4 separate regions of the Homo sapiens genome follow, and regions 2, 3 and 4 are each linked to region 1. Evidence: promoter capture Hi-C in 16 types of primary human blood cells and fetal thymus (Javierre and others, 2016). All regions are on one chromosome and are shown on one strand. Each heading gives the region's core, a stretch centred on a gene start or on the middle of the fragment in contact. The rest is flanking DNA. Distances are from core to core; before and after follow the strand shown. Region 1 holds the start of BOLL (boule RNA binding protein). Region 2 overlaps ANKRD44 (ankyrin repeat domain 44). Region 3 overlaps LINC01923 (long intergenic non-protein coding RNA 1923). Region 4 overlaps LINC01923 (long intergenic non-protein coding RNA 1923).

What was found. Contacts are between HindIII fragments. The CHiCAGO score rates a contact against its expected background, and 5 or more counts as called.
Region 2: a fragment that was not itself captured here is called in contact with the fragment with the promoter of BOLL in region 1 in 1 of 17 cell types (erythroblasts); the score reaches 7.7 in erythroblasts.
Region 3: a contact is called between a fragment that was not itself captured here and the fragment with the promoter of BOLL in region 1, in 3 of 17 cell types (M1 macrophages, M0 macrophages and non-activated CD4 T cells). The highest score is 7.8, in M1 macrophages.
Region 4: a fragment that was not itself captured here is called in contact with the fragment with the promoter of BOLL in region 1 in 13 of 17 cell types (M1 macrophages, M0 macrophages, M2 macrophages and 10 more); the score reaches 20.0 in M1 macrophages.

The regions. Positions count from the first base shown.
Region 1 is chr2:197,781,554-197,788,973 of GRCh38, reverse strand. BOLL (boule RNA binding protein) reads left to right here and starts at 3,655. Exons shown (of 11, transcript NM_033030.6): 1 at 3,655-3,918; 2 at 7,109-7,252. The coding sequence starts at 7,124. RefSeq lists an enhancer at 2,250-2,479. The HindIII fragment of the contact is 5,410 bases long and covers 249-5,658 here.
Region 2 is chr2:197,188,940-197,196,359 of GRCh38, reverse strand. All of the region lies in intron 1 of ANKRD44 (ankyrin repeat domain 44), which reads left to right. Among named protein-coding and RNA genes, the nearest start is that of ANKRD44-AS1, 5.3 kb to the left of the region's middle. The HindIII fragment of the contact is 2,421 bases long and covers 2,190-4,610 here.
Region 3 is chr2:198,311,998-198,319,417 of GRCh38, reverse strand. The region is part of intron 2 of LINC01923 (long intergenic non-protein coding RNA 1923); the gene reads left to right. Among named protein-coding and RNA genes, the nearest start is that of LINC01923, 59 kb to the left of the region's middle. The HindIII fragment of the contact is 3,962 bases long and covers 1,710-5,671 here.
Region 4 is chr2:198,295,325-198,302,744 of GRCh38, reverse strand. It overlaps LINC01923 (long intergenic non-protein coding RNA 1923), which reads left to right. Exons shown (of 3, transcript NR_110267.1): 3 at 929-3,382. Among named protein-coding and RNA genes, the nearest start is that of LINC01923, 76 kb to the left of the region's middle. The HindIII fragment of the contact is 1,138 bases long and covers 4,328-5,465 here.

The DNA.
Region 1 (7,420 bases), core at 2,406-4,905:
TTCTGCCCAGACCAGCATTCCAGCCTTAACAATGCCCTTACCCAGCCCTGGACACTGTGCTCTATGATGCTATCCTCTGTTCTCCCACAGACCGTTGATCATTGTTAATATATCACTCAGCCTGTTATGCCTGTATTTTATTTTCTTATAAGCATATTTATATTATACTGTTTGGAGTAATTAGTTTTTTCTATCCTTCTAGATTTAAAATGCTTTGAGAACAGAGGTTTGACCTTGTTCTTCAAGCTTGTCCAACTGGTGGCCCATGGGCCGCATTTGAATGCGGCCCAACACAAATTCGTAAACTTTCTTAAAACATTATGAGATTTTGTGATTTATTTTTTTAGCTCATAAGCTATCGTTAGTGTTTATGTATTTTATGTGTGGCCCAAGACAATTATTCTTCCAATGTAGCCCAGGGAAGCCAAAAGATTGGACACCCCTGTTCTTCATCTTCATATCTCCCACATTATATTCCATTATGTACTGCACAGAATAGGAACTCTGTTAAGTGTCTACTAAATTGGGGTGCATTGCATAATTTTATGTGGTTTATCCAAGTTTTAAAGCTGAACTTTCCTTTTGGTGTAAGAATTAATAGTAAGAGGCAGAACAGAGAACTGCCACACTGAAAATAAAGTATATCCCTCTAGTACCCAACACCAGCCTTGAAATACAGTTAGCGTTCCCTAAATTACGTAAATTTTTGTCAGATTAAACACCTACTGCGCTGAATACATTTTTTAAGAGAATGTAGTTCTTGAAAATAAGTGTTTTTAGTCAAAATGTTTTGGGCAAGAGAGGATAGTAACATCTACCCAAATCCAGCAACAGTCCTAGGAAAAAAAAATGCCCAAAGAAGATTAGTTCTACTGGTATTGAACAGTAAGATTATTATGCTTTAGAATATGAGTTTTCATCTAAATAGGTTTGTATTCTCGATTTCCACAGAGACTGAAACCTGGTAAAATGAGCTTAAATTGCATGCAGAAATGTATAATGACTTTAGGGATTCTTCGGGTAAGATAAACAAAAATTGTTTCCCATTTTATTTTGGGTAAAATAATATGAAGAGCTAATCTTTGAATAAATCAAAAATTAATATATTCACTCTGTTTTTAATTCTATATCTTGAAGGCAAAGTAACCCAAAGTCAAACTTTTATAGTAGTGTGTACAATAGTTATTACTGGTGTAAATTTTAACAGTTGTTACTGCTGATTCTTTAAAAATATGTGGCAAAATGGTTATGATCAAGAACTGTGGGTTGGGGGGGAGACGAGGGTTAAACCTCCTACAGCTTTAGATCTTGACCAAATTACTTATCCTTCAAATCTCTGCTTCATCACGTACTATGACGATAATTGGAGCATCTATCTGAAAGGTTGCTGTGAGCATGAAAAGATTAAATGATACTGATCATAAAGCATTGTGCCTGAAACAAAGTGAGTACTTGATAAATGGCAGCTATAATAATGATAATCATTACTATAAGTTTATCCAGTTGTAATCATTTTAGCTACCTACTAGAAATACGTATTATTTACAAAGCAGTCTTCTTTCAGCCAGGCATGGTGGCGTGGGCCTGCCTGTGGTCCCAGCTACTCAGAAGGCTGAGGTGGGAGGATCGCTTGAGCCCAGGAGGTCGAGAATTCAGTGAGCGTGATCGCACCACTGCACTCCAGCCTGGGCGACAGAGTGAGCCTTCGTGTCTAAATAATTAGTCAACTGGACGGGCACGGTGGCTCAAGCCTGTAATCCCAACAATTTGAGCGGCCAAGACAGGCAGCTCACTTGAAGTCAGAAGTTCAAGCCTGGCCAACATGGTGAAACCCCGTCTCTACTAAAAATACAAAAATTAGCCGTGGTAGCGGGCGCCTGTAATCCCAGCTACTCGGGAGGCTGAGACAAGGAGAATCGCTTGAATCCGGAAGGCGGAGGTTGCAGTGAGCCGAGATCGCGCCACTGCACTCCAGCCCGGGCGACAGTGCGAGACTCCGTCTCAAAAATAAAAATAATTAGTAAATTAATTCATTAATTTAAGAAAAAAAGCGCAATCTTCTTCCAAAGGCGATCCCAAGGCTGTTGGAGGCTGAAACCGCTAAGTCGCCCCCTACCGCGCGGGTGGCTTCGTCCCGGACCCCTCCAGAGGCTGTGCCACTGCTGGAGGTGCTCAGCGGGGCCGGGACCCGCTTGGGGCGCCGTCCGGGGCGAGCACCGGAGCCCGACTGGGCTGAATGGCAGGTCCTGACCAAGCCACCCGCGCGGCCCCGCCCGCCTGGCGGGATGAGTGACGGCGGCAACAGGTGCAGAGCGGCGTCCGCGGCTTCTCGGGAGCCCCCGAGTTTTGCGAGTCAGGCCCCGAGAGTCAGAGTTTGACTCTAGAACCTTCTTCGCTTTACACCAGTCTTCGGAAGTCGCCCGTCAACCGGCTTCTTCTACCTCAGTAAAGCCTTAAGGTCACCTCAACCTCTCGAAACCCACCAGTCCCAGAGGCCGACTCTTCTCAAGTGGAGGAGAGGGGAAGGCGTGCATGGAGCTTTGCCTGACCGCTCGCTCTCTCCTCCCCAGCCGTCTGAGAGAAGGCGAGAGGGGTCCCAGAACCGAGCCCTCGCTCCGCACGCCCCACGCCCGCCCCGCTGTGCCGTGCGCTCTGCCCCTGAGACGCCCCGGCTCGGAGTCCCAGGGCCACAGCCGAAACTCGCCCTCCCGCGCCCCTCTCCGGCTTGCAGCGCCCGCCCGCACCGCCACCTGCCACCCGAGGCGACGCAGTCCGCTTCTCCCCACCCGCCAGGTGGCAGGTTCAGGGCCGGGGTCCGAGCCTGCTTCCCTGCAGCTGCCACAGCCACCCTCGCCGCCAGGGGGCGAGAGTCCCAGGCAGGACAAGCAGCGCTGCTGCCTTGGCGTGAAGGTGGTTTCAAACTTTAGGCTTCTTTTCCCTACCCCGCGTCTCTGAAGAGCAGAGAGGAAGATGGAAACCGAGTCCGGGCCGGTGAGTACGGCGATCAGGGCCCCAGGGCGCGGGATAGCGGGGAGAAGGAGCAGCGTGGAGCCTGTCCCTGAGGGCTTGGAGGGGCGAGGTGAAGGCCCCAAACGCTCGCTATCTGGTTGGGAAGAAACGTGGCCAGGTGCCCCATCGACCGCTGCCAGGAGCCACCCGCCCGCAGACCTCGTCTGGCTGTGTCATGGGGGTCAGAAAGGCGCCGCCACGGGGCCTGGACTGGGTGTAGACGGGCCAGGGGACCTCAGGCGTGGATGTTTCGGGAGGCGGCGGGCTGCCAGGCACCCAGCGAAGTCCGAGCAGGTAAACCGCTTTCCCGCCGAAATTGGGCTAGGCAGCGTCTTTGACGCTCCCTGCGGCCGAACTCGACCCAGCCGCCCAAGGCGAGGAGTTGCCAGGGCGGTCGACGCCTCCACTCCCCGACTGGTCAGCGAGGACCGGAAGGTCTGAGAGACCTGGCAGGGCCCGCCTGTGGCCCAGGCGGGACCCGGACACTCTAGCCCTGGCTGTGCACCCAAGCCAGTCAGGGTGGACTTGGGGAAGTGAAGGAGGACTGCCCGCACAGGCCCGAGGCGCAGCGGCAACGTGCCATCCCGCCCCGCCCCGTCCCGCCGCCAGCAGCCAATCAGGGAGCGCCGCGCGAGGGTGGGGACCAGCTGCGCACGAGGCCAGCGGCGGGGTCGCTGCCGTTGAGGCTTCCCGCCACTGCTGCTGGCGGATTTGTGGGGCAAAATTTCTCGCTGGCTAGCCTTCTTTTCCCTCCCGCACTTTGGTGGGGAGGGGGTGGATCCTCGTTTCGGTGCCCAAGTTCACGATGACCCGAGAGAACTCGAGGAAGTTGTCGCCGCGGCCATTTCCCCCAGTGCCGCAACTTGCTGGCCTTGGAGGGGGAGGAGCGCCGAGGCAGTGACTGCGACGGTTAGCCCGCCCGTTCCTGCTGTCTTCGTTTGCAAAATAGATGCTAGATCTCGAGGTTGATTCTCAAGGGGAGGGGCCAGTGAGGGCACATTGCTTTGGAGGAGTAGTTTAATAAACTCTCTAGTGCTGGAAGTTTTAGCAAACGGAGGAGCCTTCAAACCCGGCAACAGTCCCCATCTAGGTGTTTCCGTAACACATGCGGAATTATTGCTAGTGGAATTTCAGGCTTTCTTTGTTGTTTAACTCAATGCATCGCTAATTGTTTATAATGAACTTAGATGTTGCCTCCACCTGAGCCTTGCTATTGCTAACATTAAAATATTTTGTAGGCCTGGCGCGATGGCTCCCGCCTGTAATCCCAGCACTTTGGGAGGCCAAGGTGGGCGGATCACGAGGTCAGGAGATCGAGACCATCCTGGCCAAAATGGTGAAAACCCATCTCTACTAATACAAAAAAATTAGCTGGGCGTGGTGGTGCGCACCTGTAGTCTCAGCTACTCAGGAGGCTGAGGCAGGAGAATCTCTTGAACCAGGGAGGCGGAGGTTGCAGTGAGCCGAAATCACGCCACTGCACTCCAGCCTGGCGACAGAGCAAGACTGTCTCAAATATATATATATATATATATATATATATATATATATATATATATATATATATATATATGTATTAGACTGCTGTTATACTGTATTCTTTAGCCTTCAGCCTATTTGGCATATCATGAGCAGGTCTCTCCTGAAGAAATGATTCACTTTTAGTCATTCAACAGATATTTATTGAGCACCTGCTGTGTACTGTCAGTACTTTAGATGCTGCCATGAAAAAAGCAAAACTTCTGCCCTGGTGCATTACATAATAGTGGAGACAGATAATAAACATACTAAGTAAACTATATCGTATGTTAGAAAATGATGAGGGAGAAAACTTAAGCAGAGCGAGCCCACAATAGAGCCTTAGAGAGTGGAGGAGAATGAAGTGAATTGAGTGTGAAAGGTTGTTTTTCTTTTCTCAGGGAGTATCCTTTAGTTTCTCGAGATTGGAAATAAAGCACTGTTTACTTCCGTTCATTTCATCCTTCTCTCAATGAAATATAATGGGGTTTGTCTTTTACTTAAACTTGCGAACATATTAGTACATCTTATTTTCAATAAGAGAATTTCATGAAGAATGATTTTTTAAATTTAGCAAATAGGTAATTTTGACACTGTAAACAAATGGGCAGAAAGACAAGATTACATCTACTAGAGCTGTTATATTATCTCTAGCAATACAAAATCCATAGTTGAAAAATACTAAGCATTCCAGAATTACCCATTCTGAGCATTATATCCTACTGAGCGAAGTGACTGAAGTCACAAATAACCTCCAAGTGCCCAGAGAGAAAGCTGTTAAGATTAGATTCCCAGTTTCTTTCATTGGAAACTACAACATAGTAATTATTAAATGTGGTGGCTTTTCTGTGTTTTAAAAGAAGTATTTACATATTCCCTTATTAGGAGTACATACTTCCTTAAGGCTGGATGGGGAAGAGAGCCCATAAGGTCCAGCCTATAGCCCAATTGCCACTCCTGCCCTAGTCATTTCTCTGTACATCTTGCAAAGATTAATTTAGGGATTGTGATTGTATTGGCCAGAGAAGAAAGAGCAGAACAAATTTGAAAAAGAACAACTTTATTACCTGAGCTGGAGATTCATTTTCATGAGTTTGTTTCTCAGAGAATTGGAATTATGAACTTCAAGCTTTTGTTATTTTCTTTTTCTTTCTTTTTGAGATGGGGTCTTTCTTTGTTGCCCAGGCTGGTCTCGAACTCCTGATCTCAAGCAATCCTCCTGCCTCAGCCTCCCAAGCAGCTGGGATTACAGGCACAAGCCACAACACCCAGTTTACTTCAAGTTTTTTGAAGCACACATTTAGGATATTATGGGGTTTGTCTTTAGGATATTATGGGGTTTGTCTCAGAAGTGTGTTTAGTGTTTCCAGATGGAAAATAATTCACCAGTTCTTGAATTGGTTTCTCTTCAATGTGATTCTCAAGTCTTGGGTTTTTTTTCAGTTATACCTTAAAAGTCTATTATCTTACCATTCTGCAAAGGCTTATACATTTATATATATTTATTAAAATTTAAATTATGTCCTCTAACTTAGAATTGTGAACATGTGGATATGTACTGAGCTAATTCTTTGGAATAAACATTTATGAGCTACAAGTATATAATTTTTTAACAAAATCAGTCCAATCTTCAAATTGACAAGTGCATTTAAAATTTTGACTTTCAGGCTGAAAATGGTGAATGTGAATGTTAGAGTTTATTAACTTGTCGATGACCATTAGTTAAAGACCACCAGGAACACATGCGTCATTTAGTAAAGTTGGGTCTGTTAATTGTTCAAACAAGGGAAAACATAAACCATGGGGCCTCTCAATCAGAAGGTGTTAGAACTTACAGGATATAGGCTTCTGTTGAGCAATTTCTAGAGAGGGTTTAAGGAAGTAGGGCTTTACTCTGGAATGTATAGCGTCAGGAAATGGTAGTAATTCTATGATTGGATGTGTTAACTTTTATCTAAAAGGAAAGAAAAATGGATCGAGGCTAAAACTATAGCTGATAAAGAAGGAGCAGTCACTCATATCAGCCAGAATGGAGGGTTGTTTGGTTATTCTTGTGGTTTGGGCAATGCCTTTGTTTTTGTCAGCATTCAAACATGATTATGGAGTGGTCTTGTTTTTAATCTTGATCCATCAGAGTCACAGGGTGACTTTGTCTGATGTTGGTGTTCTGTTAACAAGAGAACACCACAGCCTAGCTGTGAGTGCCAGGCCAACTCCTAACAACACCAGGGTGTAGTTGATTGTGTCAGGCTGGGACTGTTTTCTCTTTCTCAAACATGTTCATGAGTTTAATATTCCCCTTAATAATTAAGTAATAGGTTTGATAATAATATAAGCATTTTAAGTAATATATTTAATATTTAAAATCTCTATAGTGGAGTAGATTCTGTGTTTCCTAGTTCTGTTGCCTTAAAAAGCTCTTAGCTCTAATTATAATTTTTATAATATTAAAAGTAAAGCCTAGAATACTATATTTTGCCTAAATGACTCTTCTTTTTGAAAAATATATGTTTTTGGTCTGCATCAAAAGCAGACTGCATTATACCCAGTGCAAAAAGTGTAAAAGAATTTTATTTTACAGCAAACATCAAACCAGATGCAAACAGATTCATTATCTCCATCCCCTAATCCTGTGTCACCTGTGCCTTTGAATAACCCAACAAGTGCCCCAAGATATGGAACAGTGATCCCTAATCGCATCTTTGTAGGAGGAATTGATTTTAAGGTACCTATTTATGCATGCAGTAAAGTGTATTTTTTCATTAGAAGTCTTTATTTCTCAGAAATTATTTCTTTGTGCAACTATAAAATAACATATTTGCATAATGATTAACAGATTTTGAATTATCTTATTATAAAGAATCTTTTCAACCAGCATGTAGGTTACATAAAG
Region 2 (7,420 bases), core at 2,151-4,650, 590 kb after region 1:
TGCACCCTAAAACTGAACTGCTGTCTCTATTTGAACAGACAAATAAATTATACTGAATATACCTACAACCCTGAAAATCATCTTCTGGCCATTTTTCTTTTTTCCCCACAAAGATCACTAAAGTGGTTTATATTGATTAACATTATTAAATCCACCTCTCATGTTTGCAACTACATGAATTCAATATGCAGTAAGATACAGTTATACAAAGAATGTAACCCAAGCCAAGATGAGAAATAAAACCTCTATACCAATTTTTCAAAACAGGAAACTGTTGCAGAAGTATATATAGTTGTTCTTTTTGTTTCACTAAAATTACATGGATTTAAATGTTCTGTATGAACTAACCTCCTGGATCCATTGTCCTTTTTGCCCAAATTAGCTTTCTTTAAAAGTTAACTCCCCAACACAATTTAATTATCTTAGCTAAAGTTTAGGTTTGATCTCAAGCCATTTGAAACTAGACAGAGTGAAAAAATCTGTGGGTAGTTGGCAGCAGATCCTGATAGAAATATGGCACTTGGCAAAGGCTGTCTGCCTTGTTTTGATTTGCCTTTCTCTTTATGGATGTGGCCTATTTTTGAAATGTTATGATTTAAATTCAGCGATCAAGTGACAAGTCTGACAAAACAGAGCTTACATCCGCAGAGGTTCTGTGGGGGAAAAAATGGAAATGTTCCAGAACTAAAGGAAGTAACCTCAGTTTCACCTGGAAACATTAGTGTTTCGGAGGCAAGGGATTTGGGCTATATATAAAGAGTGAAGGAAAGTGGCCAAGATGCTGGGCCAAAATTGCATCCAGGAATAGAGCAGACATTAAAGAACCAAAAACTATATCTGTTGTTTTCACCGTATCCCTGTAAGTAGCACCTGGGGAGACTGTGATTAAAAAAAAGATGGGAAAGTTCTTTCCTGTGATGGCTTGGATTGTAGCAACAGCCTTCTAACTGGGCCTCTAACTCCAATCTCTCCTTCTCCAGTACTCAGTGTACACTTTGGCCAGATTAAATTCTTGGGAAAACTCTATTCCTTTCTCCTGCTCATGACCCCCATTCCTGTTTGTCCATAAGATTAGGTAAAGGCTGGGTACAGTGCTCATGACTGTAATCCCAGCTCTTTGGGAGGCTGAGGCAGAAGAATTGCTTGAGGCCAGGGGTTCAAGAGCAGCCTGGGCAACATAGCGAGACCCTGTCTCCACAAAAAAATATTAAAAATTCACCAGGTTTAACAGTGGCCTGTGCCCATAGTCTGAATTACTTGGGAGGCTGAGGTGGGAGCATCGCTTGAGCCCAAGAGTTTGAGGTGGTAATGAGCTATATGATTGCACCAAAAAGATTAGGTTAAAGCTTCTTATGCTGATGTGATGCTCCCCCCACCCAGTTATTCATTTTTCTAACTTCATCTTCTATTATTTTCCAACATGAAAGATTTACTCTCCAGTCCCCAGTCTCATCCTTCAAAATTCTGCTTAGTGCCTACCTTCTTCATCTTTATAACTCAGACCCATGCGGAGCCCCCTCAACTTTGAAAGACTGTAGCCCTTTGTTTTCTGTCTTTTGGTAAGATTATTTTATTGTTAGCCATTTTGTTGCAAGGAATTATATCTATATCTATCTATCTATCTATGTATATGCATTTGGCCACTATTTGTGTAAATATATATGCATACGTATAGAGAGAATGTATCTCATATATGGCAGCTTTTTCCTTAGTGTATAATATTTCTCCATAGGAGGTATGTTGAAACTGAAGCTGAATTCTGATCATGAATTATATATATATTATATTACATGTGAGAGAAAGTACCAAGCTGCGAGAATCAGGAAAACTAAGTTCTAGTCTCAACTTTGTCACTAACAGGCAAATCATTAGACTTCGTCACAGCTCCAAACAGGGAATTCATTTCCTTTGTGTCTATCAGGAGATCACAAAAGAAAGGTGTAACTACATGTATTTATGACAACCTTAAGTAGTAAAATTACAATCTCAGGTCCCATTAAGCTGGCATGAATATATGCAGTTACCTTTTGATTAGTCAAGAAGAAATGATGTATTAGTTCAGTGAGTTATTGGCTTTATAGATTAGACTTCTGAGTACAGAGGGACTGTGTGACAATTTCGAGGTTGCTGAGTGTAACAAAGGCCAAGTCATGCTCAGTTTGATTTTTGCTCCCAGGCCTGTAAAAGCTTCTCTCCCAATATGATGGGCCCCTCTGCTTTAGAGGTGGTGTTGAGTGGGTTATAATCCTAACTCAATTTATTTACTCTGTAGTATTTTAGGAAATCTTTCAAGATCTCTTATTTTTCCTTTTTTAGGATGCACATAAAGGTACTTGTCTATGAAGGTTTTTGAGCTTGTTAAGGTAAACAATCATCCCTGTTTTTATTGCGTGCACACCAGGCATCTGGCCCCGTGCTGGGGGTGTTGCATATGTTGTGTTATTTTTTATTATTTATTTATGTATTTATTTATTTTTTGAGATGGAGTCCCTCTCTGTTGCCCAGGCTGGAGTGCAGTGGCGCGATCTCGGCTCACTGCAAGCTCTGCCTCCCGGGTTCACGCCATTCTCCTGCCTCAGCCTCCTGAGCAGCTGGGACTACGGGCGACCGCCACCAGGCCCGGCTAAGTTTTTTTTGTATTTTTAGTAGAGACGGGGTTTCACCGTGTTAGCCAGGATGGTCTCGATCTCCTGACCTCGTGATCCACCCTCCTCGGCCTCCCAAAGTGCTGGGATTACAGGTGTGAGCCACCGCGCCTGGCCGTTACGTTATTTTTTAAACACATCTATAAAATGGCTATTGTAACCCCATCTTAGAGATGAGAAAACTGAAACGGAAATGGATTGGATTTAATAATTGGTCAGTCTGATACCATAGCATTAATCTTTCTACTATGGAAAAAAAGGAGGTCAATAAAAATTAACATTTTAATCAATAAAAATTAACATTGCCTCCAGATTTCAATTTAACTGATACTGTTATTCCATCACTTCCTTTGGCCCAACTTTTTGTCTGTAACTGGTAACAAAGTTGAATTTTGTTTTACTTTGGGTTGGCCATCGGGTGAGGGTGATAACTAGTGGTATTAAAGAGCAGAGAAACACCCAAAGAGAATCTCAGGAAAGGAAGGAGCAACAAAGGATTAAATGTTCCAAAAATTGGGTAATTGGGGTAGTTGGTCCTTGAGTAACTATTTCATAGTCAGTACCCATGTGTTATTTTCATTGGGAAAAGATTAGGTAATAAATTAATTTTCTCCATTTTCTAATTAGATGTAATTCTTTTTTCATAATGTTAAATATAGAGTTAACAAATATGCTACTTGGAGGGCATGACTATAACATGGAATTTTATGTTTTTTCTGTTTTTAATAGTAATGGAAAATATTATATATATTTACTCTGCAGCATAGCCTGTAGGAGACATTTTCAGACATGCAGTCCTGCCTCACTCCCTGATTTTTTAAAAAATGTATTTATAAGGACTCAGTATATTTTTGTATTGTCCTTATGGTACTTAAGAGGAACAGATTTTGATTTTATGATAATCATTATCTTTCTGGGATGGAGTGAACTTCTCAAGTAAAGGGTGATCTATATTCAGGAAGAACTCAATGAAATCCTTGCAGGAGATCATACAGCAGAACTCACATGAATTCAGTTAGCAGGTTTTGTTCATTAAATCTAGTGACTTGAACAAATTTTTATTATCCTTTCACAAAAGTGCAAGCACTGGCTCCTACAAAAAACAGTTGTTACCTAACGAAGTGTTTCAGCTTGTTCATATAAGTTGATGGCTTCATATGGCTAGATTATTGCTGTATCAGCTATCAGCTACTGATAACACACTCCCATCTTACTTTAATGACATATGTACTCAGAATGCTCAAGGAGGGACAGATGTTTAGGAATATCAAATTTTCCTTCTTGGCTATTGATTGATTCCCAACACCCATTTCTGATTGGAATGCAAAATGTTTTTCTTTTAGACTTGGAGTCTTTATTTTCCCGATCTAATCAGAAAAACACAAGCAACACACCAGGATCTAGAATGAAATGCTGGAGCATCCCTGGATGCTGCTTGGGCTTATTACCATTGACTGTAGTTACCAATGCTCAATGACAGCCTCTGTCACTCTGCCTATCTTCCAAAGCCAATTCATTAGTACAGAGCATGCAACTCTGGCAAAGGGAAAGTGAAATATACTATACAGTGGTTTTAGCAAAAATCAAAATGGTGGTTTCATTAGGGGATTTTGCGGGATGTGGGAGGGCATTGATGACTTCATAGCCGGATGGAGTGGATACTCTAAACTAGCTTGGCTCTCTTTGTAGAACCCATGATGGGCTTCATTCTTAAATGGAGGGTGTGTCTGATGACATCAGTAGCATATTTTTTTCATGGAATTGACATAATAATTGAATTGGATTTCACAGATGATGAAAATGATACCTTAGCACGTAGGTTTTAGATAGTTTTATTCTTATTTCTAAAACCTGGATCCTCAGGGATCAATAGGAATTTTTTGTGTTTGGTGTTTTTTTGTTTGTTTGTTTTAGTATGTGCATGGTGTGCATGTTTACTTATGACTAAGAACTCTTTCAGAAGCTTGAGTTCTTTTATGTTTTTAATGAAGTGGATTTTTCAATTACCTTACTTCCTTAATTACACATCCTGAACCTTTGCTTTTACCTCCCAGGTAACAAATTACCATCTTGCTCCCCCTAGTGGAATTTTGACTCTACTTCAAAGTTTGAGAATAACTATCCCTAGTACATATTTGATTTAGCATTTTATTTTTGGAAGTCTGGTATTTTCCCAGTTTGTTTTCAGGGTGAGAATAAAAACAGAATATTTTATTGGATGTGCCGATAGGGGATGTGGGTAGAGAAAGTGGCTTTCGGCTGATTAGATTTCAGTTCCAAGGGTTAGCAAGTTCAGCTACAAAATTTATAAGATCAAGGGGTCTTTCTGTTCCCCATTTCTATCTTAGAGGGGTCAAGTGTCATCAGCTTGGCAGACATTCACCTCTAGAAGGCAGCCGTCAACACTCCTGGAAAGGTAGTAGGGGGCTAGTTGTTGGTGATTTTGAAGGCAAGGACAGGTCCCATCTGAACAACAAATCCCACTTGTGCTTTTGGTAAATTTGGCCCAGGAAGTGTCCTTCTGTCTTCTGAATCTACCAGAGGCACTGCACCAATATCTGCAGCACTGACAATCATTTTGCAGCTGCTAAGCATGCTAAGAAAATTCTAGCAATTGAAGCTAAAAAGACTGCATACCTCTCTTAGGAATTTAAATTTCTTTAGGGGATGATGATCAATGATTTCATGGTATCTGAATCTCCTTTTTTCCTACCACTATTTGTTTTTCTCAATTTTGACCCTTGTTACAATTTTGTATTTATTCAACTCTGTACCCTACTGTACACAAAGCACTCGTGTTATATATGCTAGTGCTAAAATGTGTGAAACTTTAAAAAGAAATATCTGTATATGCCAAGGCTTGGGACTCTGCTCTTGTGCAGGTAGGACTTTGCTTCTAAGCCTTATTTAAGTTAAGACAAAAGCTGCAAAAGTTATGATGGTTGCCAAATTAATGAACAACAGAATATATGTCCTTAATACTTATGAGCAAGAATATTGTAATTAGAATATTCTTTGCCTTAAACATCATATAATATAGTATTTAGATATATCTTTTCCCCAATATTTTTTCTTAGGTTAAGTGTTTACCTGGGGAAAAATAAAACAGCAGGATCTCATTAAAATTCCAACAAAAAGGAGTGCCAAAGTGCTCTCTGGGAATGTTTTTGGGAGTGTGGAGAGAAAAAAAGAAGAAGCAGTCATAATATTTAAAAAATAAATATTACTTGCTCAAGAATCATTATGCATTCCATTCAGTAATTATATCCATACAAACACACAGCTTCAGTTGAAGCAAAGCACGTTATCTGTGAAGTTCTAGTTTGAAATCCCATGATGCTTAAATTCATAATTGTGAAGGCGATGTCTCAGTAGCCACATGGCACAGTTGAGCTAGAGATGTCCATATAGCAAGGCTTTGGGATGTGGAGAACAGCTGCTTTTTTATTCCACGGGAAGTAGAAGGGGTTTGTGTATGACTCAACATGTGTCTCTATGCATGCATGCCTGAGTGTAGATAGGTATGCATATGTACCTAGGTGCATATGTATGCATATATGTGACTTCAGTATTGGAAGAGTTATAATGATAGCTCAGCCTCTTCTTCCTAATGGCTCCTGGGGATTCTGTGCCTTGACAATTCTCTATAAAGTAGCTTTTAGCAGCATTAGTCCCAGAGGCACCACTCCCTGCTGAGGACTGTGCTGGCGCCCTTCTCTGGAAGCTTTTTTGGGATGCCTCTCCTTGGTAACATTCCAGCCATAGCTTGGAATGCTTGCCTTTCTTCAGAAGTGTGAGGACGGAGTGAATGCAACAGAATGTATGTATTCCGTACACTCGCAACTGGGAGACTCTGCTCACCTCATTATGTTCCCTTAAAGTGACTAAGTAGTGGTGCATTAACTACTGTGTTGGGTTTGTTCCCCGGAATCTTAACTGTTCAGCTGTTGATTGACTACTCCTGATTTAACATGAAAATCTTGTCAGACACTGCCTCTACTTATCGTTCTCTGGTTGTGGAGGTTTGTTGCTTGTTTTCTTTTAAGGTCCAAAAAGGCAGAAATGCACACATGAGCATTTGGCCATGAGCACAGCAGATGGAGAATTATGGAGCAGATAAACAAGATTCAATATTTTTTTTTGTCGAAACCCTGAATTTGTGTCTGGCTCTGTGTCTTGTGTGAAATGTGGTCCTTGCCACGGGGCAGATGTAACCCGAACGGAGACTTGGTTAGCAGGTAGTTAGGGGGAGTGTGGAAGGATCTGCCTGTCTTTAAGCAGAGTAAGTAGCTAAGACTGAACTAGCAGTAAACTTGTATTCTTTTCAAGACTTCTTTCCTGCTACTTAATTGTTGGCAATTTCAGAAACTATCCATACACCTTGTCAAGAAGCAGAATTGAGAGGGTGTTTTCGAGAAAGAAAAAGAGATATATGTTCATTTGCTGGGAATTTTTATGGCAGAGGAGAAACCCATGGACAAATTCCTGGCATATTGAAATATCCATTCTGCACCTTGACATTTTTACATAGTGTTTCCTCAAGGAATCTTACTCTGTCTTACTGATAGTACTTATATTGGTCCCCCAAACTAGCAATAAACAGCAACATAACCTGTAAGAAAGCCAACAGGAGGATAAAAAGAGAAAAGAGGGTTTATAGGGAAAATGACAACTCACATTCCCAACAGCAGATCACAGGGTGAGGTCAAGGTATGTGACACTAGTGATTTCACCTGAGGCCAGTGCTTGCCACCAGTTCCTAAGAATTGATAGGT
Region 3 (7,420 bases), core at 2,441-4,940, 530 kb before region 1:
CTCCTCACTTCTATGGTTGAGAATCTATTTTATTAAATAAGGGAGATTATTTTGTTTTTCATTAAAAGTAAACCTGAATGTTTACACTCTTTATTGTGATTTAGCAATTTAAATTAAAAATATGTTTTCTGCTTCGATTTGTCAGTAAATAATGGGTAAATAAGATGAATCTTATTACATTTTCAAAGGCCAATGTTCTGCTCTCTACTTATCTTACTATTTTATTCTACATCTCTTAATAAGCTAAATTTTTCACTTTTAAAATGACTTTTCCTGTTCATCTACTACACAGGCTGCAGATCAAATCTCCATAAATTTACAATTGTAAAGAATCCCTTTTACAAGAGCAAAAAACCAGTCATCTTTAATGCATTGGGCTTTTTACAATTATACAACAAATTTTTTTACTTTACTTTTAGAAAAAAAGAAAATATTAATATCTTAACATTTATGTTATGCCATGCAATAAAAACAACTCATAACTTTTTCTCATATTTCACCAAGTTTTCTATTAGAACTTCTTCCTGGCTATTTAAATATGCTTAAACTAATGGTTTTCTGTAATTTGTCTTTTTTCTTTAGAAACATACCGTGCCATTGTCAGTTTTTAAAAAGAAGCAATTTTCTGACTTTTGAGATTGAGTACGTAGGTCAAGGAAAAATGACTACTGTTGAAAACCTGTAATTAAACAGAAAATGCAGCTGCACTTATGAGAAACTAAAATGAAGTTTATTAATACTTGATTCTGAAATGGATTTTTGAATTTTGGGTTAAGGTTTCATTTAGAGCCATGCCTTATCTATACCCTCTTTGCTGATTACTTTTCATAAGCAATATGTAGGAATATAATAATCCTACTTTTATGAAGAAACATTTCTGATCTATTTCCTTTTCTCCTTAAAATATCAATTTCAGAAGTATTTTAAAACAAACTAGTGAAATATTCTTTGTCAATTTGCTTTTCTTTTGTGATTACTCTAGATAAATACATGTTCTCCCCAAACATTAAAAAAGTATGTTCAATAAATACATTTTAAGCACAAATTTTTATGATCATTTCATAAAGGGTAGCCTTTTAGAATATAAAATAATCAAAGCTTTCTTTTTGTATTGATTTTCATCATCATTAATTTTTCTAAATGTGACATATATCATTTCATTTCATTAAACAATACTCATAAAGGAGGTTTACTAAGAATACAAGCTAATTTTTGAATTTATGAGATTACCAGATCTATTTGCTGAGTATACCTCCTATTTGAACAATTCATCAAATTAGGTTACATTTAAAGAGTTAAAATATTTTGTACAAACACAAAACTAATAAACAAATAAAACCATTTAGAACAATTTAAAAAGTCATAATATTTGTCACTGCTTAATTTTAATGGTGCATTTTAACAAATCAAGATAAACACCCTTTAACCTCCCCTACAAAACTCTTGGATTGAAATCTGAATAACATTTACATAAAATTAGGTATAATGTGAAAGCCTTCTTAAAGCAAATGAGAGTACTATAAAATTATTTATGTATTGAAATAGTAGTAATCTCCATTTAGAAGCTGAAGCTGAATGTCAGAATATACATAAATGTTTGCTGCATCTTTAATTATAAAGCTTATGATTTTTCATAAGTATATGTTAAGTGGCACAGCAATATAAAAAAATAGTAATTATTTAACTGCAAATATCTAAAATCTTAAGCTTTGAAACTTAGTTCTACTTTTGAAAAAATAACTTTTTTCTGAGGAAGAATGTTCTTGTTCTGTTTTTGCTTTTGTTTAGAACCATTTTAAACACATCTTCAACCAACGTGTTGATTTATTTATTCTGACTACATGTACTCTAAAACGATGGGATAGTGGCTGGGAGACAGTGATATAAAACAATATACTTTTCAATTACTACAGACTTATGGAAAGAAAGTACTAGGAAGTGAGAAAAGCACCCAGTTTGAGTGGGAAAGAATTACAATAAAACTAGGGCTTTAATGAACACACTCCTCTTTGACATTCTAGGTCAGTCCTGTTATACCTGCGTGGTTTGGTCATTTCTGTTCATTTGTTAATGTGCTAAGGCCCTTGGAATTCTATTTTCCAGATGCTTATATTCCATAGAGGAAAGGAAAACTGATCCATGAAGTTGTTATTTGCATAAAATGCAGAGGCATCTGTCACTGGCTTCTTCCTGGTTGAGTTCGGCATGCAGGGATTCTGCAGCTGCTCTGCCGCAGCATTAGGTCCCCATGCGGGCAGCGAGAGTCAACGGTGAGGACAGCATCTAGGGGCAGGGTGAGAACTTGCTCAGTTCATAATCAGGGTATTTACAATTATATTTTTGATAGGATGATGACATCACTGGTCCTGTCTCTCTCTTTCTCTCTCTCTCTCTGTGTCTCTGTCTCTCTCTCTCTCTCACACACACACACACACACACACACACAACTAGCTCAGATTCAGCCCAAGAACAATTGTAATTGACCACATTTTTCTGTAAATATGTTTCTTATCAAGGTCATGATAAATTAATCATAATCTTGTTGCATAGCGTTAATGTAGCACAGAGGGTGGAAATCGGAAGGCAAGGTTAGGCTTATTCGCAGGCCTTCATTTTAGGGGAGATTTTTGTTTTGTTTGCCTTTGGTTTTGTCTCCTTTTCTCTTGAGTCTAATTAAAAACCTATCAGTGTGGGTATCTTTGTGCCCACTTCACACACTCACAGAAAAGAAACGTTGCTTCTATTGCTAAAGTAAATTGTAAAATCAGAATGGATCAGGCCCGTCATGGTGGCTCAAATAAACTTTAAAGAGGTATACTGCAGCTTCATTATGTTTCAGCATTTATTCCTGCATGACACTCAAACCAACAATTACAAGTGTCAAGTTTAGTGACCAAAAATGTCTACAAACTCCATGACTGCATTGTTGCACAAACCTAGATATGATTTTCCACAAAGATAAATATAAATCAGTTCAAAGCCAAATCATTTGTAATATTTTCCAAAGCATATTTCAAATAGATCTCAAAGTGCCTGATGTGGTAATACTATTTATAAAATACTTGGTATTAGTCTGCCTTCATTTTTCAGTGCCGATATATTCACTATGACCTGTTTCCTGAGGATAGAGTTACTGCAATCTGTCTGACAAGGACTTTGTGAGTAAAATGGCACAAAGAAGCAGGCATAGTAACCAGTTAACAAATTCAGACTTTGAAATAATAACAGTTCTTTGTAACAAACTGGGATAATTGGGCTAAAAGTTTCTCTGATGCAAGTTCATCAGTAAGCAGTAATCAGATAGGAGGCTTCTTTGAAACTTTTCTGATTCATAAATAATATAGTAGTTTACAAAGAGGAAGTTTGTGGGAAGCAGCAGTAAACAGTCTCGCAATCCATCTGTTATTATGGAATCCAGAAGAGCTGAATCAGGATCCACGTTGTTTATGATATAAAAGATGCTCGGGAAATGTTGCTGAAATAATTATTAACCAAAAATGTCATGTTTTTACTTTTTAGAAGTCTGAGTCATATGTGGTTGTGATGAAATGTACCCACCTGTGTGAATAAATGCAGGAAGTTTACCTGGATTAATAATGTAACAGAACACCAAATGCAATTCTTAAAAAGTTTTTAAATAGGCATTGCAGAATGTGTTCTTATTTTTTTAATTACTGGTTAATTTTTCAAAATTACATTCAAATATATTCTTTTTAAGCATAATGTGATTCTTCAGAATATAGCTTTAGAATTCCATTTGATAAAAAAGTGATTAAATTCAGCGCTGAGTATGAAATTAAAATAGCCAAAGCTAAAATTGTCTTTCTACTCTGTCTCTTGACCTTGACCTCACCCCAGTTTTTCTCCTCACCAACAGTCCTAGCACACACACAAACACACACACACAGAGAAAGAGAGAGAGTTAAAGGAAAGGAAAGATTTAGGGTGAGAGTTGCAGTGTTGCCTCCTTTTCAGGTCCAGGAATTATTCCTCAAGACTAACTTTTTTGATACTTATTTAATTGTTCAAAATTTTGCAAAGAACAAACCAAGAAATGTGTTACTATAAAGAAATTTCAACAGTGAGACCTGCCTTGTTTCATATTTACTCTAAATGAAGTCAAAATGTTTTTCCTTGTACATCTTTTTGTCTGAAGCATGATAATAAATACATAAATCCTATCATAGTAAGATAAGCCACCACAGCTGGAAAACATGGTTGGTAATACACAACCAGAGCAGAAGTTTTAACATCCTAAAACAATAGCAACACAATGATGTCTATGGATTTCCAATAATACTAACTTAGAAACGTAATACAATTAATCCATCACTTACCCTAAATTAGCTAGAAATAGATTTTGCTCATTATGGGGAAAATAAACTAAAAACCTAACCAAAATAGAATGCCCATATGAAGATGCAGCTATATTGACCATAAGTAACAGGTATATGGATCTAAAACATTGATCATGCATCATTTTTCTTGAGTTTCAAATTGGTTTGGGTTTTTTTTTTCTGTATTTTATAGAAAACCTATAGAATAAAAATCCACACATAATCCTCCTTTAAGGGCATTCTATTGGGCTAAACCGTACAGAAACCAGCTTGAATAACAAGAATTCGTTATTCTCTGCCTGCAAACATTGACAACAGTGCCATCTTCTGGCTCTATAAAAGCAACTCCTGCATTCTACTTTTGTCAAACTGCTGAAAGTTCTTTCTACCGAGAATGAATAATCCTCAACCAGGTTTTCGAATACAATGGTCTTTATTAACAAGTGCGAGTTTGCGCCTTTATAACTAGGACCAGGACAACTTAACTCCTGTGTTTCTTTTCCTTTGGCGTATATACCTTTGTAAGTAGTAAACTCTTTATTTCTATGTTAATTCTCTTTCTCACTCATCCATTCTTATCTTCAATTTCTGGTGTTTTACTTAACCTTAGCCCATGCCTACCTACTTGCTTAGTTCTAAGAATTTGTTTCTCTCTGTATAGTTCTAAGTATGTGTCTCTATTCCTCTTGTTCTATTTGATCTCTGCAGCTCTATTGGTGATGTTTATTTGGAATTAATTTCATACTTTAATTCTGTACTCTCTAGTATTTCTTTTTCCTATCTCCTCATGGCTTTCTTTTAAACCTCCTCTGTATTTTTCTAACGTTGTCCAAATTGGTAAAATTTAACAATTAGTAAAATGTAAATGAATAGCTGTAATTGCTTTAAAAATCTCATAGCCATAAAATACTATCTGCTGTTGATGAACATTGGAAGAAAAGCTACATCTTTTCATGTACATTCGGCAACAGATAAATAACCAAAATAGTAATGTCTCTTTCAACCTTTCAATATGTTCAGTACAGTTAAACACCAAATGGAGTAATGGTAACATGCAAGGGGAATTCTGCATTTCCCTAACAAGTTTAAAACTGCTATTCAAAGAGGAATAGCAGTGCTTTGGACAGGATGAGTGATCAACAGATACTGAATGAAAAATAATTAGGTGATCAGCTCCAAACAGGGGCACAGGAAATGACACAGGTGAATGGAATACGAGTTTGTAGAAAGGAGGGCAGAATGTGTGGAAATTTCCTAATCAAATGAGTACACAAAAGACATTGGAGCTTTTTTCCCTTCAAAAAAAAAGTTGCATTTTTTTTAAGCACTAAGCTTGTCAAATTTTAATCAGGGAGATAGATGAGTGACAGATGAGGAGTAGTAAATGATGAGAAATTTTCAGCGAGCAAAAAAACGAGTGAAAATGGAGAACAAAAGCTGAAACAGGGAAGCGAGCTAGATGGTAAGGGGAAACAGAGGAGAGAAGGGGAGTAGCCAGGGCGAGACCACAGAAACCCAGGTGAACCAAAGCTCTTTCTTGAACCTTGTGCAGGAAGAAAAGAAACCAAAATACTGATTGTTGCCCAGGGCTTTGTGAATCAAAGTAATGTGCTATCCAGAGCAAAGTGAGGAAAACACAAAAGAACAGATTTGAGGGTCTGCTGACCTGACTTCAATGGCAAGTGAATTATGAAAATTCTTGCGGAAATTATAACCCAGCCACACAATGCCACATGGATGTACCTCCTGCTTCACAATCAATGTATGACAGTGTCACTCTCCTGCTAGCCCAGCAGTTCCCAGACTTTGCACCTTAACATCACTTGGAAAGCTTTTGAAAGTCCTGATGCCCACATCACACTCTCATACAAACTATTTAAATATGACTTTCTGGGGGCCTAGCAGGCATTAGTATACACATTCACAGATCCTCATATCAGTCCAATGTGTAGCACAGTTTGGGAACCACCAAAGTAGACTAAAAATGTTTCCAAGGGCAAGGTCTATAGCTCGGCCCCTTTTGTTACCTTCGGGGTATTAGGCATAGTGGCTGCATTACACACCCTTGTTAAGCGAAAGTAGTAAACATTAGCTTTGGACCTTCCACCTTTGTGTGTGTTTCAGAGTCACGGACTTTCCTTCCTTTCTCCTGAACTTGAGAATTGAATATTTCTGCTTCCTAATCCCATGACCTAGGACGAGCTACTTAACTCTCTCAGCTTTAGTTTCTTCGTTTGTGAAGTGGGCTTTATCACAAAGCTGTTGAGAGGATCAAGTGAGATAATGCGAGCAAATCCCTCGGCTTTGTGCCTGCCAAATAGTCAACGCTCCAAAAATGTCAGCCGGTATTATTATCCATTTATTCATGAGTTAATTCCCTGCCAACATAAAGGATTTTTTAAAAGTCTTTTGAGAAAGAAAGTATCAAGAACTTTATCACAGCAGCCTGAAAAAGGGAAGTCCAAGAGACAAGAGGAAGAAACAATCTTTTTTTGAAGGGTTAGGAGAAAGTTGAAGATGCATGAAGGATGGGATATTTATATTAAATCCAACTCAATGCCTTATATTTTAGCCCACAGCTCCCAATTAAAGAGGGTGAGATTTAGAAAATCAATCAATAATTAACCAGTTGTTTGGAAAAACAGAAACATGCTTCAAGGGAGGGAACATTATAGCAAGTGAAGACAAAGTTTAGGGTCCCTCACTTCTTCCTGTCCCTTAAGCCGGGCCCTTGGAGCCTAGACAAGTGAGCGTGTGCCTGGTGTCCAGTGGCCCCTGTAAGGCAGTGTAGGTGGAAGCTCTCCCATGAGCCCAGCCTTCTGACCCACTTTCAGCTGGTCAACCCAGGAGACCTCACTTTGTCTTCTTGTGGCCAGAAATTCATCCTGAAATAGAGCAATTCTGAAAATGGGAGACTCTGATTTTTAACTGCCCCTGCCGGCCTCTGTGCTAGAGTTTTGCAGACCCCGTACAAGTTGTCCGATTGCAAAGAACTCAGTTATTGCAGCCTAAGTGAGGGGTGGGCACAGCAGCAGAAGTGTTGGGGCAGGGATGCCAGGGCAGAAGAAATTGCACTGTGAACA
Region 4 (7,420 bases), core at 3,647-6,146, 510 kb before region 1:
CAGCCCTAAACTTGTGATTTTAATTGTTTAAGAGTGTTTATATGTACAAGTATTATTTACATGTTGGGGGAAAATTTCTTTTTAAAGTAAATTCCATAAGTAGTATGTTAAAATTTAGTATAATTGCTTATTTTTTAAAATGCTAGTCATTTGATTAATAATTAAGATTAATGAAGTATTATACAAGTGATCTCGTATACCCTTCCACACTCAAAAGGCCATTTCATGGAGAAGAATCTATCTTTGCTCATTCTAAAACTATGCAAAGTTGTAATCTTTACTTATTTTTTTAAGTATAACTTATTTTTATACATTTCATTCCCTTTTCCTAGGTAAAGTTTCTCGTAAATTAGCTTGAACTTCTTGTACATCAGTTTATGTACAAGGTAGCCTGGGATGGATCTTCCCCCTAATTCTATTTCCAATACTTCCCAGGTCAAAACTTTTTAAAACATAAATAGGGAAGGACATAGCAACGGCTTTTGTAGTTTCTTTTAGAAGGCAGAGCTGAGCAAACTTTTCAATGTATCAACATGAAAAGACATGGCTGGCCAGGTGCGGTGGCTTATGCCTGCAATCCCAGCACTTTGGGAGGCCGAGGCAGGTGGATTGCTTGAGACCAGGAGTTCAAGACCAGCCTGGCCAACATGGCAGAACTCCATCTCTACTAAAAATACACAAAAATTAGCCAGGTGTGAGGTGCATGCCTGGACATTCAAGGAAATGGCAAAGAGGGAATTAAATGCAAGTTTTTTCCAGGTAACTCCAGCAAACACTAACAAAGGGATGACTTGAGAAATCAATAATCTGGTTCTTCTTTGCCTGTAGAACCAAGTTGGTTCAAAAAAGGAGCCAAATATTTTACATTAAGAACAACTGGCATACTAAAATAATTATTTATATGTATTCTATTTCCAATACTTCCCAGGTCAAAACTGTGATCCCTGCTACTTGGGAGGCTGAGACACAAGAATTGCTTGAATCCAGGAGGCGGAGGTTGCAGTGAACCAAGATCATGCCACTGAACTCCAGCCTGGGTGACAGAGCAAGAGTCTGTCTCAAAAAAAAAAAAAAGAAAAGAAAAAGATATTGCTTAGAAAAGTAACTTGAGTCCTGTTGAGCCTAAGTAAAGGACAATAATGGAAGTTTCTAGTCTGCAAAATATGAAGATGCCCCTCAGAGACACAGCTGTGGGTGCCTCTCACAAGACAGATGTTCAGGAAAACTGGGCTGTTGCTCTGGAATTTTCAATGAGTTATTTTACTTGTTTTTGCCTCAGTTTACAGAAAATAAACTGGCAACAATATCTCCTTGTTATTGTGAGGATAAAATAAAAGGTGTGACATTTCTATTTTAAATGTATAAAATGCCGAAAAATTGGAGGCAACTGGAAGGTACAGTAGTGGATGTGAGGTAGTAAGGGGGAAAAAAGGATATGTAAATCACCTAAGATGAAATAGACATTCAGAAGGCCGTAACGTGAAGTGTGAGTGACACTGATTCGCTAAAAATCCTATATAGTGTCTTAAAACAGCAGCAGTAACAACAACAAAGTTTATTTGAGAGGAGGAATTCTGGAAAAAAGCTTCTTTCAAAAAAAAAAAAAGAGTCTTCTAGTGCTCAGACAGTTCGTTCCTCTGCAAAGGCGGGTTACTCTGTTGGGGTCCATTATAGTTCTGAGGATGAATAGGACAGGACAAGGAGATGGTTCCTGGCCCCTGTTCTCCTGCCACAGATCTGTCCCACCTCCCAGGCTCCATGCATACAGTGACAGAGATGGAAAGCCCAGAACCAGTCCCTTTAATGCACTTATTTGCAAAACAAGATGTCACTATGCAGCAGAGTGACAGTCCTTTCCCCTGGAACTGTCCCAGAGTTCTCCAAGCTGAAGCCAGGGCTACATTCACCATCTCAGACTCCTGCTGAGCTAAGTAACCACCCTCTCCTACCTTCTCTTCAGGAGCCCTGGCACCCTTGCTCTGGGGAGAGTTTGAAGAGCAACCTGAAAGTTCCCACAGTTTTTCCTCAAATCTGGGTTTCCATGAGCATGGGCCACCAGTCGGGAGAGCCACATGCCTGCCCTTGCCTGGCTCAAGACTGTCACTCTGTCAGATTCATATCGCTCTCTGACCCTTAGCCTTCCAGTCTGGATCTTGACCTTGAACTGGACTCTGTAGGAAGTTCTTAACATTAAAGGAAGTTATTTATCTCTTTTCAACTAACCCAAGCACTTTCTAGCACCTTTTAGCAGTTTAAGCTCTATGACTCCATTGGATAAAATGCTGGGGAGCAGGACATTGACACAGTCACAGAATATCACACACGGAATCCTCATTCATTCCCCCAGGGAAACAGCACCTGTAGAAGACAAATCTGGTAGACACTACTGTGACAGGTGATTTTATATGTCAGCTTGACTAGGCCACAGGATGTGTAGACATTTGTCAAATTTTTTTTTATATGTCTGTGAGGATGTTTCTGGATGAGATTAACATTGAATCAGTAGACTGAGTAAAGAAGACCGCCCTCCCCAGTGGGGGTGTCCCTCATCCAACCTGTGGAAGCCCTACATAGAACAAAAAGGCTGAACCTCCCCCAAAATACGGTGATCTCAAGCTGCCTGACTTCTGGTGCTGGAACATTGTTCTTTTTCTGCCTTCCGACTCAAACTGAAAATCAGCTCATCTTGTATCCTGAGTCTGCTGGCTTCCAGACTGAACTATACATTGACTCTCCCAGGTTTCCAGCTTGCAACTGCTGGTCTTGGGACTTCTCAGCCTCCATAATCATGCATTAGCCAATTTCTATATAGATCTAGAAATTCATATATATATATGTGTGTGTGTGTGTGTATGTGTGTGTGTGTGTGTACGCATATATATACAGTCATGAATCACTGAGCAGTGGGCATACCTTCTGAGAAATGTGTCATTAGGCACTGTTATCATTGTGTGAACATCATAGTGTACTTACACACACCTAGACGGTATAGCCTACAACACACCTAGGCTATATAGTATAACTTGTTGCTGGTAGATTACAAACCTGTACAACCTGTTACTGTACTGAATACTGTAGGCAATTGTAAAACAATGGTAAGTATTTGTGTATCTAAACATAGCTAACCATAGAAAAGGTACAGTAAAAATACTGTATAAGAGATAAAACATGGTGTGCCTGTATAGGTTGCTTACCATAAATAAAGCTTGCAGGTTGGAAGTTACTCTGGGTGAGTCAGTGAGTAAATGATGAGTGAATGTGAGGCCCTTGGACATCACTGTACCCTACTGTAGACTTTATAAACACTGTACACTTAGGTTACCCTAAATCTATTTTAAAATTGTTTTCTTTCTTCAATAATAAATTACCCTTAGCTTACTGTAACATTTTTACTTGACAAACCTTTTAATTTTTAAAATTTTCTGACTGTTATAATAATACTTAGCCTGAAATACAAATGAATTGTCTAAGTGTACAAAAATATTTTCTCTCTTTATTTTTATTTTATGAGCTCATTTCTATTTTTAATTCTTTTAACTTTTCAAAATTTTTTATCAAAAACTAAGACTCAAACACACATTAGCCTAGGCCTACAGAGGGTCAGGATCATCAACATCACTGTCTTTCCCCTCCATATCTTCTCCCACTGGAAGGTCTTCAGGGGCAATAACATGCAAGAACTGTCATCTGTGATAACAATGCCTTCTTTTGGAATACCCCCTGAAGGACACACCTGATGCTGTTTTACAGTTAATTTTTTTATATTAGTAGAAGGAGTACACTACAAAATAATGATCGAAAGTATAGTAAATACATAAGCCGGTAACATAGTCATTTATTTTCATTATCAAGGACTATTTACTATACACGATTGTATGTGCTAGATTTTTATATGACTGTCAGCATAGTAGGTTTGTTTGCACCAGAATCACCACAGACACAAGAGTAATGCATTGAGTTATGATGCTACAATGGCAGTAACAAGTCGGCTGATAGGAATTTCTCAGCTCCATAATAATTGTGCAAGACTGCCATCATATATTCACTCTACTGTTGACCAAAACCTCATTATACAGCATATGACTGTCTATATATAAACAAAGAACCATATTTTTGAGGAATTTTAATTTTTTATTTAAGAGTAAAGTGTAATAAGGGTAAAGTGTCTGTGATTTGTTTAAATTCTTCAGAAAAAAAGGAAGAAAAACAGGATAGAAAAAACAATACAGCAGAATCTTGCTAAATGAGTGATGCCAATGTCGGCAAGTTGGGTGATGGATACATTGGGGTTCACTGCAAACTTTATATTTGTGTATGTTTGAAAGCTTTTATAATAAAAATTAAATACAGTATATATTAAATATGTATGCCACTTAGCACTTAATCAAAATTTTTTATCTCGCCTTGTTAGATTTTATTATTTTATCTTGAACAAGTAGCATCAACATAGCCTGGGCAATATAGTCAGACCTCGTCTCTACAAAAAATTTTAAAAATCAGCTGAGCAGGCTGGGCGCGATGGCTCACGCCTGTAATCCCAGAACTTTTGGGGCCGAGGCGGGCTAATCACCTGAGGTCAGGAGTTCGAGACCAGCCTGGCCAACGTGGAGAAACCCCGTCTCTACTAAAAATACAAAAAAATAGCCGGGCATGGTGGCGCATGCCTGTAATTCCAGCTACTTGGGAGGCTGAGGCAGGAGAATCGCTTGAATCTGTGAGGCGGAGGTTGTGGTGAGCCGAGATCGGGCCATTGCGCTCCAGCCTGGGCAACAAGAGCAAAACTCCATCTCAAAAAAAAAAAAAAAAAAACAGCTAAGCATAGTGGTGGACCACACGTAGTTCCACCTACTCAGAAGGCTGGGGTGGGAGGATTGCTTGAACCTGGGAAGTGAAAGTTGCAGTGAGCCAAGATCACGCCACTGAACTCTAGCCTGGGTGACAGACAAGACCCTGTCCCCCCCCACCAAAAAAAAACTCAATATAAGAAGTATTGCTGGTGAACATATAGTGCCCTGCACCTAGAAAAATGAAGCTACTTTCAAGAGATTAGTAGGAGAAGGGATCATTGATGATCCCTTGAAGCCAGGGTCTTAATGAAATTTGGAATGGGAAGCAGCTCAGTTATTAAAAAAAAAAAAAAAAAGATACCCTTGCTGGCACAAGGACGAAGGGTAAGTTATCACTTCCCTTTTTCTAGTGTTAAGTAAATTACATTTAACAAAGATGACTCTTGTCAATTTTGTATCACTTTGACTCTTACGTACTTATGCAGTAAGTTTCTTAGCAGCACTGCTTGCTATAACTTAAACTAGAGAGTTAATAGCAGAAATGCAGCTGTATCTGAAATATGCTACAACTACTCCTCTCAGGAAGGATTTGGAGGAGTAACTTTTAAATGCTTGGCTCAACATCTTAAAGACAAGTTTCTGTTAAGGTGAGAAGACAACAGTATAGAATGAAAAGCTTACACAGCTGGATTCTAAGGCTGACTCCCCAATTAACTAATTATGTGACTTTAAACCAATCACTTACTTTCTCCAACTCTCTCCAGGGTTCTTTGTTTTTAATGAAATGGGCTGGTGGGTGAATTGGACTCTTTCAAGGAGCTCTCCCAGGACAAAGACATGGTCATGCATATTCACCAGACCATATCCAGCATCTAGCACAGCTCCTCAAACATAAGAGGATTCCAATTCGTATTTTAAGAGAACAAAAAAAACCAGAATATCAAATAATTGGTTACATCCAAAAACCTGTCAATCCGGAAAATTTCTCACATTCGTCTACCTCCTTGACCTGGATCTTTTCAGGTTTATCACGTTTTCCCCCAAGAGAGCCTCCAGAAGTGAAGACGGCGTATAATGCAATATGACCACTAGATGGCAGCACGAACCCACCTCAGAATTATCCCTAAAGCGGCCACAGACCCTAGACCAGCTGTTTCAACTGAGCCTGCACAACTGAGCAGACTGTGAATAGTTAAGACTGCCTTGGCTGGTGTCTTTCCCTATACCCTTCCTTTTGTTTTAATTATAAGAAATCTATATGAGTTTCACTATTGATAGGAACATAAATGATCTGTTGTTTCAGCCCTAGGATATTGATATTGCCTTTATATAAATTGTTGATATTTTGTTCATCATGGATTTCCTTTCATTAATTTTGATTAATGCAAATTTTAAGTTACTTTCACCTTAGTCCTGAAAAAACAAGACTGCTTCCAGGGACCATCAAAATAATCTTACAGAGAGACTAGGTAGTATGCATCTGTGGGAGATGCATCTGTGCACACTGGAGACCTCCAGTATATACAGCAGGAGCTCAGTAACAATGTTTTTCAGTGAACCAGGACAAGGATATTCAGTGTATGGGTACTTAAAAAAATGAATGCATGCTCAAAAGGTGAGACCTTCCTTTCCTACTACATGTTTTTTTTCTTTCTTTCTTTTTTTTTTTTTTTTCACTAATTCATGGTCTTCTTCATCACCTCTCTCCTCCTCCTTCCAGAGCTCCATCTGCTTCCCTGGGTACTACATTGTGAGACACTTTGCTCCCTTCCTTTTTATTTATTTATTTTTATTCATTGATTGATTGACTGATTGAGACACGGTCTTGCTCTGTTGCCAGGCTGGAGTGCAGTGGTGTGATCACAGCTCACTGCACCCTTGACCTCCTGGGCTCAAGGGATCCTCCTGCCTCAGCCCCGAGTAGCTGGGACTAAAGGCACCCACCACCACACCCAGCTAATTTTTGTTTTTTTGGTTTATTTGTAGAGATGGGGTCTTGCCATGTTAGCCAGGCTGGTCTCAAACTCCTGGGCTACAGTGATTCCCCACCTAAGCCCCCCAAAGTGTTGGGATTACGGGCACGAGCCACTGCACCCGGCCACCCTGCCCCTTTTAAAAATCTCCTTTCTATTCTCTCTCTGCTGGCCCACCTTACCCAGAGAAGTTTTCTTTAGTTCCATCTCCTGTTCTATTTCATTTTTTCTTAGATCCCAGAGGAATTAAGAAGATGGGGTGGCTGGGAAGGGAAATGGGGAGAATCTCAGAGAATGGAAGGATCAGAGAGCTGGAAGCCAAATCTAGACTCTAAGCTCCTGGGGCACAGAACATCCCCACCAGACTTAGCACAGTGCCTTGCACAAAACAGGTGTACAATAAATATCCATTTGTATGGATGATTACTTGTGTTAATTAGCAATGTGCTCATACAAATAATGAAAAGTCATACAGTAATTTTAAACAATGTCCTATATACAACTATTTCAAGGACTCATGCAAGTGACAACATCCATTAACACTGTAGCTAATTACCTTTGTGCCTCTCCTCTCCTCCCAGTAGCTTCAAGTGCTCAACTCTTAAAAATCCTGAAAGTCAAAGGGCAAGCAGATTCCAGGCTCCCCTTGAACTTTCCCTG